Linked DNA regions of Homo sapiens: region 2 is linked to region 1. The links are contacts of gene promoters, found by promoter capture Hi-C in blood cells and fetal thymus (Javierre and others, 2016). All regions are on one chromosome and are shown on one strand. Each heading gives the region's core, a stretch centred on a gene start or on the middle of the fragment in contact. The rest is flanking DNA. Distances are from core to core; before and after follow the strand shown.

Region 1 (4,247 bases), core at 1,748-4,247:
CTAAATACCAAATGAAAATCCATCTTATGAAAATTTCATACTTTAATGAGAATATGTTCAACAATGAATAAACACTTGGCTCAGTGAGGATAGTTATTGTTTAGAATCACATTAAGTCTAGCTTTTTCGTCATGTCTACCACATGAAACAATGAAGAGAGAAAAAGACTCAAGGTGACAGAGGACAGTGATCCCTGCAGAATAAATCTAGGTTAAACTTAAAAATACTGTTCTTATATTATATAAACAGTAGAGATAGTAAGCATAGCCAATGAAAAATACAATATACACATAACTTGTTTGGCTAGTTGTCTATAATATTCAAGAATATGTATCATAATACTAGCAGTTTTAAGAGATTAAAAGCAAGATACATTGTTTCTCTAGATCAGTTTATAAGGAAAATATACAACATATACTCTGGTATCATAGAAATATAAACTGGTTTTTCTAATAAGAACTTGTTGATTCCTTTAAAAATTCAATCCATTAGTCAATTCATTATTGAAGAAGGAAAGAAGAAAGGGAAGGAGGGAGGCAAAGGAAGAGAGGAAGAAGGAAAGAAAGGAAATTCTTCTAAAGTATTATAATTTCACCAATGTATCAGCAATTTCTGTAACAGTTCTTTAAAGGGAAGAACTTTTAAGAAACTCGGTTTATGGGGTTTAGAAACATTAAGTTCTAAACTTTCTAACTAAACCTGCTTAGTTAAGTTATACCTAGAATATCAATTGACCTTCCTCCTCTTCCTTCCCACATACCTTTTTATCTCTTTCTCTGTCTCTCCTCCTTCCCATTCTCTCTTCCTTTCACTCTTTTCCTCTCTGTCTCTCTCTCTCTCACACACACACGTAATGTGTTTAATTCCATTATTAGTTCAAAATAAGGTAATCCAAAAGAAACTCTCTAGAGAAATGGTAGAAAGAATAAAAACACACATCAACTTAAATATGTCAAAGAGCCATATCATTTATTGGCTACATTCCCAAAACCATTCTTGTTCTAGATAAACCAATTGTGTCTGGTCTGGACAAGTGTGGCTCCAAAATCTCAGGCAGTTTACTTCTGTCAGTGGTATTATTAGAAACAGCAGGGGGAGGAAACAATCCCAATCTTAAATCCCAGTGTGCAAATATCACAGTTCTAGGTGTTCCAAAAGTTTTATATATCATTGTCCATCTCTACAAATATCAGCTTGGATAAGGCATCTCAGTGATTATAAGTTTCCTCAACATCCCTAACAAATCCACAGGTAGAAGAATTAAACACCATGCAGAGATAAGTTCCACTTTAACCTGCAATTCACCCAGAGCTTTAGTTTCAGATTGTAGCAACTCACATAACTGGACAACATTTGGATCTATATTAGTCCAGTATAGCAGAGTTCAAGGCTGTTCATATAAGTTTTGATTCAAAACTCTTGAGAAACTCTTTACAGTTGATCTCACCTTCCATATAATGTCAAAACAAAACAAAACAAAAACAGTCCCAAACTAGGATCCTTTGGAACAAAGTTAACCTGGGGTGCATCTAAGCTAAACTGAATCCCCAAGTTCAGAATATAATCAACTATGCTTCAGGAATTCACTAGATCTTGATCAATTCCAATAATAAAAGTTGTTGAGGAGGGAGGAAAAAAACAGGTGTTTGCCCCATTTGGGGAACTTGACAATCATGTTATTGGATAATGCATATATCTGGAAAAGCACAATAGTCACGAAAGTTGTGCTTTATCACAAAAGTGAAGATTTACACTAGAATAAATCCAAATAATAAGTCTATTTTTTAACCAAAAGATAAATTATAAAGCTGTAATTTTGTTCAGTGCAAATGAAATTACTTTGCTACCTTTCACAATTCTGTAATTAGTTTGATAAATATTAAACCCATGAGGAAGAGCTCCACTGCACAAGTTTCTTTTTTAAAGACTGCTTAAAAGTAACCTTCAACAAGCTAAGAAAACAAGCTAAAGGAGACTCCAAATCTGCGGTACTGAATCTATTCTTATTACCAACGGTGATATAAACAACCTGATTTATGAAATCATAAATATCTATCAATAAATACTATAGTCTTGCTTCCTTTTACTTTAGTAAAATAATATTACTGAATTATGTACCACTGAAACTATATTACAATAAATATTTCCCCCAAACTGAAGCAAAACTTTACTCTCAAATGGAATATAATTTAAATTACAAGTACCAGAACCAACAAAAGGGAGAAATATTATATAGCAACCTTATGGCCCACCTGTCTTCTTGACTGGCATTCTTGGGTCTTTCCACTGCCACAGGAGTCAATATCTCTTTTCAGGTCTCAGTTTGATCCAGCTGGATTGAGGCCAAGAGCCAGGTAACTGTTGCAAACCACTTCAGTGTTCAGTTTTGAAATCCAGGCTGAGTCTTCTATGTCAGACAAAGAAAATAATGATGTATTTTTTCCACAACTAAACTTTTTACACCGCCCACAGAGTTTACAGCAACGTAATTTTTTAGTTTTTCAAGTTTTTCAATTTTCAGAAAATATTTAGACTGTTTTTACAAACTGGGAAAATTATTGTAAACATGAAGAACGTTACTGAAATTCCTCTTCAGGCAGCAACATTTTTGGAAGTTCAATGACTAACTCAATTAAGGCACAAACCAAATTTAGACAGGTCTCATTACTTTATACATGGTCAAATTCAAAGATGATGATAAAGATACTCAAATCTGTAGAGAAAAATGTAACCCCACCTCCCCAAAAATACTTTTAAAAATCTCTTTGACTCCAGTCTCTAAAAAGATAGGTGAGTTTGAACAGTTTTCTGTGGCAGAACACACATTGAAAGGCCCCCTTATATTTACTGATCAGAAGTTCCGGATCTCACCCCCTCAGTAACTCAGAATCCAGCTTGCTGTCCCTTTCATTTTTTTCTTCTGTGCTCTCCAAGCCCCCAGGCTTGATCCTTAATGCCCCTCTGATTCTGATCCTCCCATGTATTAACCGAGAGGATTGAAAAAAAAGGAAAGCAATCCCTTGGCATGGAGACATTAAAGTGACAGTGCTACTCAATGGGCACTTGATGCAGGATGAGTTGGCGAAGCAGATTTCTTCACACTGGAGTCATTCACATCATGCCATCTCTTCGCATTCAAGCAGCTCCCTATCCGGCGAGGAAAAACACTGAGACTTCGAGAGAAGCCAAACCTTCCCCCAAAGGTGTTTTCAGAGACGCCGTAGTAGTATTAGACATGTAAGCATAAGCTATGTAAACGGTCCGCGATTTCCTAAATGAGAAAGTGCAGCTGCTTGGCTTTCACATCCACCTTTTCTCTCAATCTCTCTTCAAACTACCCACCTTCCTTTTGCAGAAAAGACAAGACATTTCTTTGCCACCGCTGGCCACCCCTGCCCAAGCCCCGTTCTTTTAGGGAAGAGCACTGAAATGTCCTGCACCCTCCACGCGATGAAGTGTTTCCTCAGGCAGGAGCAACAGCAGCACTAGAAATTATATAACTCTCGAATTTGGCTTCTGTAAGACATGGAGACTGGAGGGTCGGGGGTTGCCGGTCTGGGAGATACTGCTGGGCATTTAACGTGCACAAAACAGCGCCAGGCCTTGCAGTGCCCCCCACCCCGAGACACGGCTGACAAGTGGGTCTTCTCGCGGGGGTAGTGGGCAAATTTCTCTCCGGTCTCTTTCCAAGCGGGGCTAAAGGATGCAAATTGAGGGGACTACAGACTGGGGAGAGGAGTCAGACGGCTGAGAGGAGAGGAGGCTAGTCGGGGCTGCTCTGACGGCGCTGGGCGGCTGGTCCGGGGTTTGGAGGAGGAGGTGCCCGAGAAACAGAGCTTTAACACCACACAGGCCAGGGCAAAGGGGCGAGTTCCCTCAAGGACTGAAAGGGGCAGGCAGCTAGTTCCCAGCTGCCCTGAGGAGAGGCAGGAGCGCAGTAACATTACAACATTCGGGCCGCCCCATCTTTCCCGCAGGACGCGAAGAGATCAGGGAGCTAAGCTGATAAATAGTCAGGGAAGGAAATACTCGGCTGGCGAGGGGGGCAGGCCCACAGGCGCCTGGACCTCCTCTAAGCGAATAAGTGGCCGTAATTTCTAGACGCCGCGCCCAATCACAGTCAGGATGGAGGGCGCGGCTTTTGACTGAGTGGGGGCGGGCCCGGGCTGCAATCGAGAGGCGTTGAGCCGTAAATCAGCACCACTTCCCGCCCAGGGCGTTCTGGGTCCCCGCCCACCGGCAAGTCA
Region 2 (4,247 bases), core at 899-3,398, 1.0 Mb after region 1:
GCCAGTTTGTATTTTCTAACGCTTACTAGCAAAGTAATTCAAGGTGATAACAAACACCTTGAACACTTTGGAAAGTGGTAGCGTCCAAACAATTTAAGGTTTCTTTTGGAAAGAGCAGGACTCCAATGTGATAGAGGTTGATTTTGATTTTTTTTTCCTTAGCCGCTTCTATTAGTTCTGTAGGAAACAGTCACAATACTTCACATTATATAGTTGTTCCTACTTCTCAAAAACATCTTTTCCATACAGACTGCCTCACCTGAATTTCACAATCCAGAGTCAGAGCAATTATGAAAAAAAAATTTATTTTGCAGTAATTGTTATTCAGCACTTTATACAGTTTAAAATATGATTTCAAGTTCAGTGATTCATTTTATTGTCACAATAACCAAATGAGATAGAAATGGTGGGTCTATCATAATATCTATTTTAGGCTGGAGAAAGTTGGGCCTCAGATAAGTTAAATGAGATATGTGAGTTAATTTGAGGAGGTAGGGGGAGACAGGACTAAATCTGTCCTTGCTTCTATTTCTCTCACCCAATCCTCTGAACCAAAGATACTAAACTCTATTCCCAAAAACAAATACAAAAGAGCTAGCGGTGGGTTGAACTCGACCAAAGCATTGGAGATCTGGATTCCAGTGGCAGAGCCAGAACTAACTAGCTGGTGACCTTGGGCAAGTTTCCTTTGTCTTGTTTTTTGTAAAAGAAGAGGTTTAAACTAGGATCTCTAATGCTCCTGCAAGCTCGAAAATTTCTATAAGTCTAGACTTTTCCATCCTTGCTCTCAAATTAATCTTTTTCTCAGAATAATAATCATAACCTTATTTATTCTCCCACTGGGTACCAGGCACTGTTCTAACGTACCCCCATTTTCTACCCGCATTTTCTCTTTAGATCTCACGACATTCCTAAGACAATTATATCTCTTTTACAGATAAGGAAACCTAGGCTCATGTAGGTTAAATGAACTGCCCAAGACCAATAAAATTAGTAAGCATCAAGGGGAGAGCTGACCGCAGGTCAGACTGACCGCGAGGATCTAAACCTGGTCTGTGTTGTTACTGCAGAAGAAATTAGGCTCCCTGCATTACTGGTCGCCTCTCTCCACGCATAAAAGGGAGAGGAGGGACAAGAAAGCCAAACCAAGTCACAACAAGCCCCTGCAAGGCAAAAACAGAAAAACCGCTGGAAGGGCGCCCGGGAGGATCCTTTCTGGGTCCAGGGGGCGGGGCGCAATTTTCCGGCAGCCACGGGATCGCAACGCGGGCCGTCCTGCCCTCTGGCCCATTACCTTGTTGAGATGAGGGTTCCTGGTGACATCGTATCCGCGCTTCTTCAGGGGCACAGGGCGCGCCGGGCCAGGCTTGGAGTGGCAGCCTTGGGCGGGCGCGGTGGGTGTCCAGCGCGGGAGGGCGCCGCAGGCCCGGCCCGGCCAGGGAGCCAGCCGCGTGCCTGTCCCCAGCGCGGCACCCATGGTCCTTGGCAGACCTGGCACGGGAGAGAAAGCAAGGTCAGGGCCTCCTTCCAGCCAGCCAGGACCCACGCGCGCTGCGGGGCACCGGGCCTGATCCGGGGACGCGCCCTCTGGGAGAGGGCAGGTGCTCCCAAAGGGTTAAATGTTCCAGCCCCCGCCACTCCTCGGCTGCCACCTGCTCGGCTCCGCGCGGGGCGCCAGGCCTAGCCAAGAGCCAGGCAAAGCGAAACCAAGCCCTGGAAGCAGATCCGGTGCGGGTGACAGCCGGCGCCACCCCTGCCCCCATCCCTGTGAAAAAGAGGCGACTGCGCGGCGAGGGGTCCCCGTACCCCTAATCCCGCGTGGTGGCTTGCCTCGGTCCTCTCCTTCCCTGGCCCACCTGCGCTGCTCGGGGAGCTGAGGTCTACGCGGTCCCGCTGCGGAGCAGGCGGGGTGAGGAGCTGCGGTCTGTGAGTCCTCTCCCGCCAATGGGTGGACCGCGCTGGCGGCCGCGAGCTCGCGGAGCTGGTGAGTTCCTCAAAGAGCGGTCCCACAACCTTTGTTCTCAGTGCCTGGCTTCCCCTGAGGACGCGCGTGGGGCGCCTCAGCACTGCGTGCACGTGGTTTTCCCCAGTGACAAGAAGCAGCTCAGAATGCCCGCCTGAGACTCTCCATCTTGGCAAGACTAAATGCACAGAGGGGGATTTGCGTTTGGGGGTCAGCATATCCTCGCACTCTCCCAACATTCGGGGAAGGGCGTGCCTTCAGGATTTGGAGTAGAAATCCTCAGGCATTCGGTGCTCAGTGTTGCCTTGTGCTGTCCAATATAATAGCCATTCGCCACGTGTGGCTATATAAACGTAAATAAATTAGTCTATATAGAATAAAATTTAACATCCAGTTCTGCAGTCACGCTAGCCACATTTCCAGTTCAAGAGCCACTTGTATGCAGATACAGAACATTTCTGTTTTTGCGGATACTTCTATTAAGCATCATTGACATAGGAGCCACAGTTACTAAGAGGACTTCTGAGGACCCCATGGAGTTTGCCATGGGTTATTGGGGCCAGACAGGGATCTTGGGGTCCATCTAGCCCCAAACTTAATTTTATACTTTCTCCACACAGTAGTCAGGAGATTCCTTTTAAAGCAAACACTTTGTTGTGTGTGGAATAAAATCCAAACTTTCAGGGCCTACAAGATTTCCCATAAACTGGCTCTTGCCAGCCTCTTCAGACTTATCCTACTCTACTCTTTCCTTCTCACTGATCTCTGGCCATACTTGATCCTTCCTGTGTCTTCACCCCACTTGGTTCCCTCCCACTGCAGGGCCTTTGCACTTGCTATTGCCTCTCCTTGGAAGGCTCATACTCCAGCCTTGCAAACCACTACTTCATTCCCACCTCTCAGTTCTCCACTAAGTTGTCAACTCGAAGGCCTTTCCTCTATCCCATTCAATGTCAGCCTGCACTAGGAACTATAGAGTGAAGGGGTTTTTCTCTTTAGAGAACTTAACACAGTCAGTAGCGCGCTTGTTTTTCTGATTGTTTACTGACTATCTCCTGTCTAGAATGTAAGCTTCATGAAGAGAGGCTCTTTGCCTGTGAACCTGTGTGTCCTCACTGCCTAGCTCACTGCCTGGTATGTAGTTGCACAATAAATAGTTGTTAGGTGAAGGGAAGTGGCAGCCACTTTCATAAGGATCGTGAACCCTTAGACTTACTGACAGACAGTTGGCACGGTCCTCTGCTGACACCCCTTCAAAGCTCCCGGTGCCAGCATTAGCCCCGTTGTAAGTACCAAGCAGACATCATGGCCCATAATGTGCTAAGGGGTGCTCCTGCCTGAGTTCAGGATTCCCTCATCCCTTCAGGAATAATCGTCTCCTCCTGCAGTCTCTCTCCTCCCTGTGTAATATCTAATTTTCAACTTGAATGATCTACGTAAAATAGTTATTTCCAAAACAGAATTACAATTACCTGGTAGGAAATAAGGATGGGGCAAAAATACAGCTTTCCAGGCCCCATCCATGAAGATTCTCATCCAGTAGGGTTTACATCCCTGAAGTCAGGTTTACTCTTGGACTGCATATTTACATAAGCTTATAAATGATCTTTTTTTCTGCCTTAAACCAGTTTGTGTCAGATGTGTGATTGTGTGCAACCAATAGTATTAACTAAATCCTTTCAACACTATTTTTATATTGGCACTTCTTCCCACCAGTCAACATCTTTGGGGGGCAGAGATCATGTGTGTTTCCATCTTTGGTATCTAGTGCATGCAAATATTTGGAAATTGATTGTTGAACCAGTTTGCCCTTGCTGAATACAATGACCTTTCCCTCCCCTGGAGGATATCTAATAGGTAACTTTAGTCATTTGAAACCAGGATGTAAACAACAAAGGTTTCCAAACAAGCGAACATAATTTTTATAGCATCAATTCACTAAAGCTTGTACAGTTTACATATAAAAGTCTCTTACATGTCCTCACCTGTGGCCTATATTCTCTTAACCCAGGCATAATTCTACAATGTTGTTTTGTGTGTGTGTTTGTTCTTTGGTGACAGGAAAGAAAAGGTTAAAGGCAGGTCCACCAGGAGCAGTGACAGAAGGCAGTAGCAAGAGGAGGTGGTGGCTTCTCAGTTCCATACAGTTGTCCAGGGACCCAGGTTTTCTCTTTTGCTGCCAGGCTCTTCTGTAGCTGTTGCCCGCCTCTACACAGCGCTAACACCATGTTAGCATCCCAGCCGTGGAAAGCGGGAACAAGGAAACAGAGGGAAAGCAAATCGA

What was found. The method cuts DNA at HindIII sites, captures the fragments that hold promoters and counts their contacts. A CHiCAGO score of 5 or more calls a contact.
Region 2: the fragment with the promoter of ME3 here is called in contact with the fragment with the promoter of DLG2 in region 1 in 1 of 17 cell types (monocytes); the score reaches 7.4 in monocytes.

What each region holds. Positions count from the first base shown.
Region 1 is chr11:85,624,347-85,628,593 of GRCh38, forward strand. DLG2 (discs large MAGUK scaffold protein 2) reads right to left here and starts at 2,998. Exons shown (of 28, transcript NM_001142699.3): 1 at 2,872-2,998; 2 at 2,241-2,407. TMEM126B (transmembrane protein 126B) reads left to right here and starts at 4,247. Exons shown (of 5, transcript NM_018480.7): 1 at 4,247. RefSeq lists a silencer at 905-1,105 and enhancers at 3,044-3,552, 3,425-3,584, 3,665-3,714, 3,855-4,044. The HindIII fragment of the contact is 9,013 bases long and covers 1-4,247 here.
Region 2 is chr11:86,670,468-86,674,714 of GRCh38, forward strand. ME3 (malic enzyme 3) reads right to left here and starts at 2,149. Exons shown (of 15, transcript NM_001161586.3): 1 at 1,857-2,149; 2 at 1,295-1,491. The coding sequence starts at 1,477. The HindIII fragment of the contact is 7,449 bases long and covers 1-3,032 here.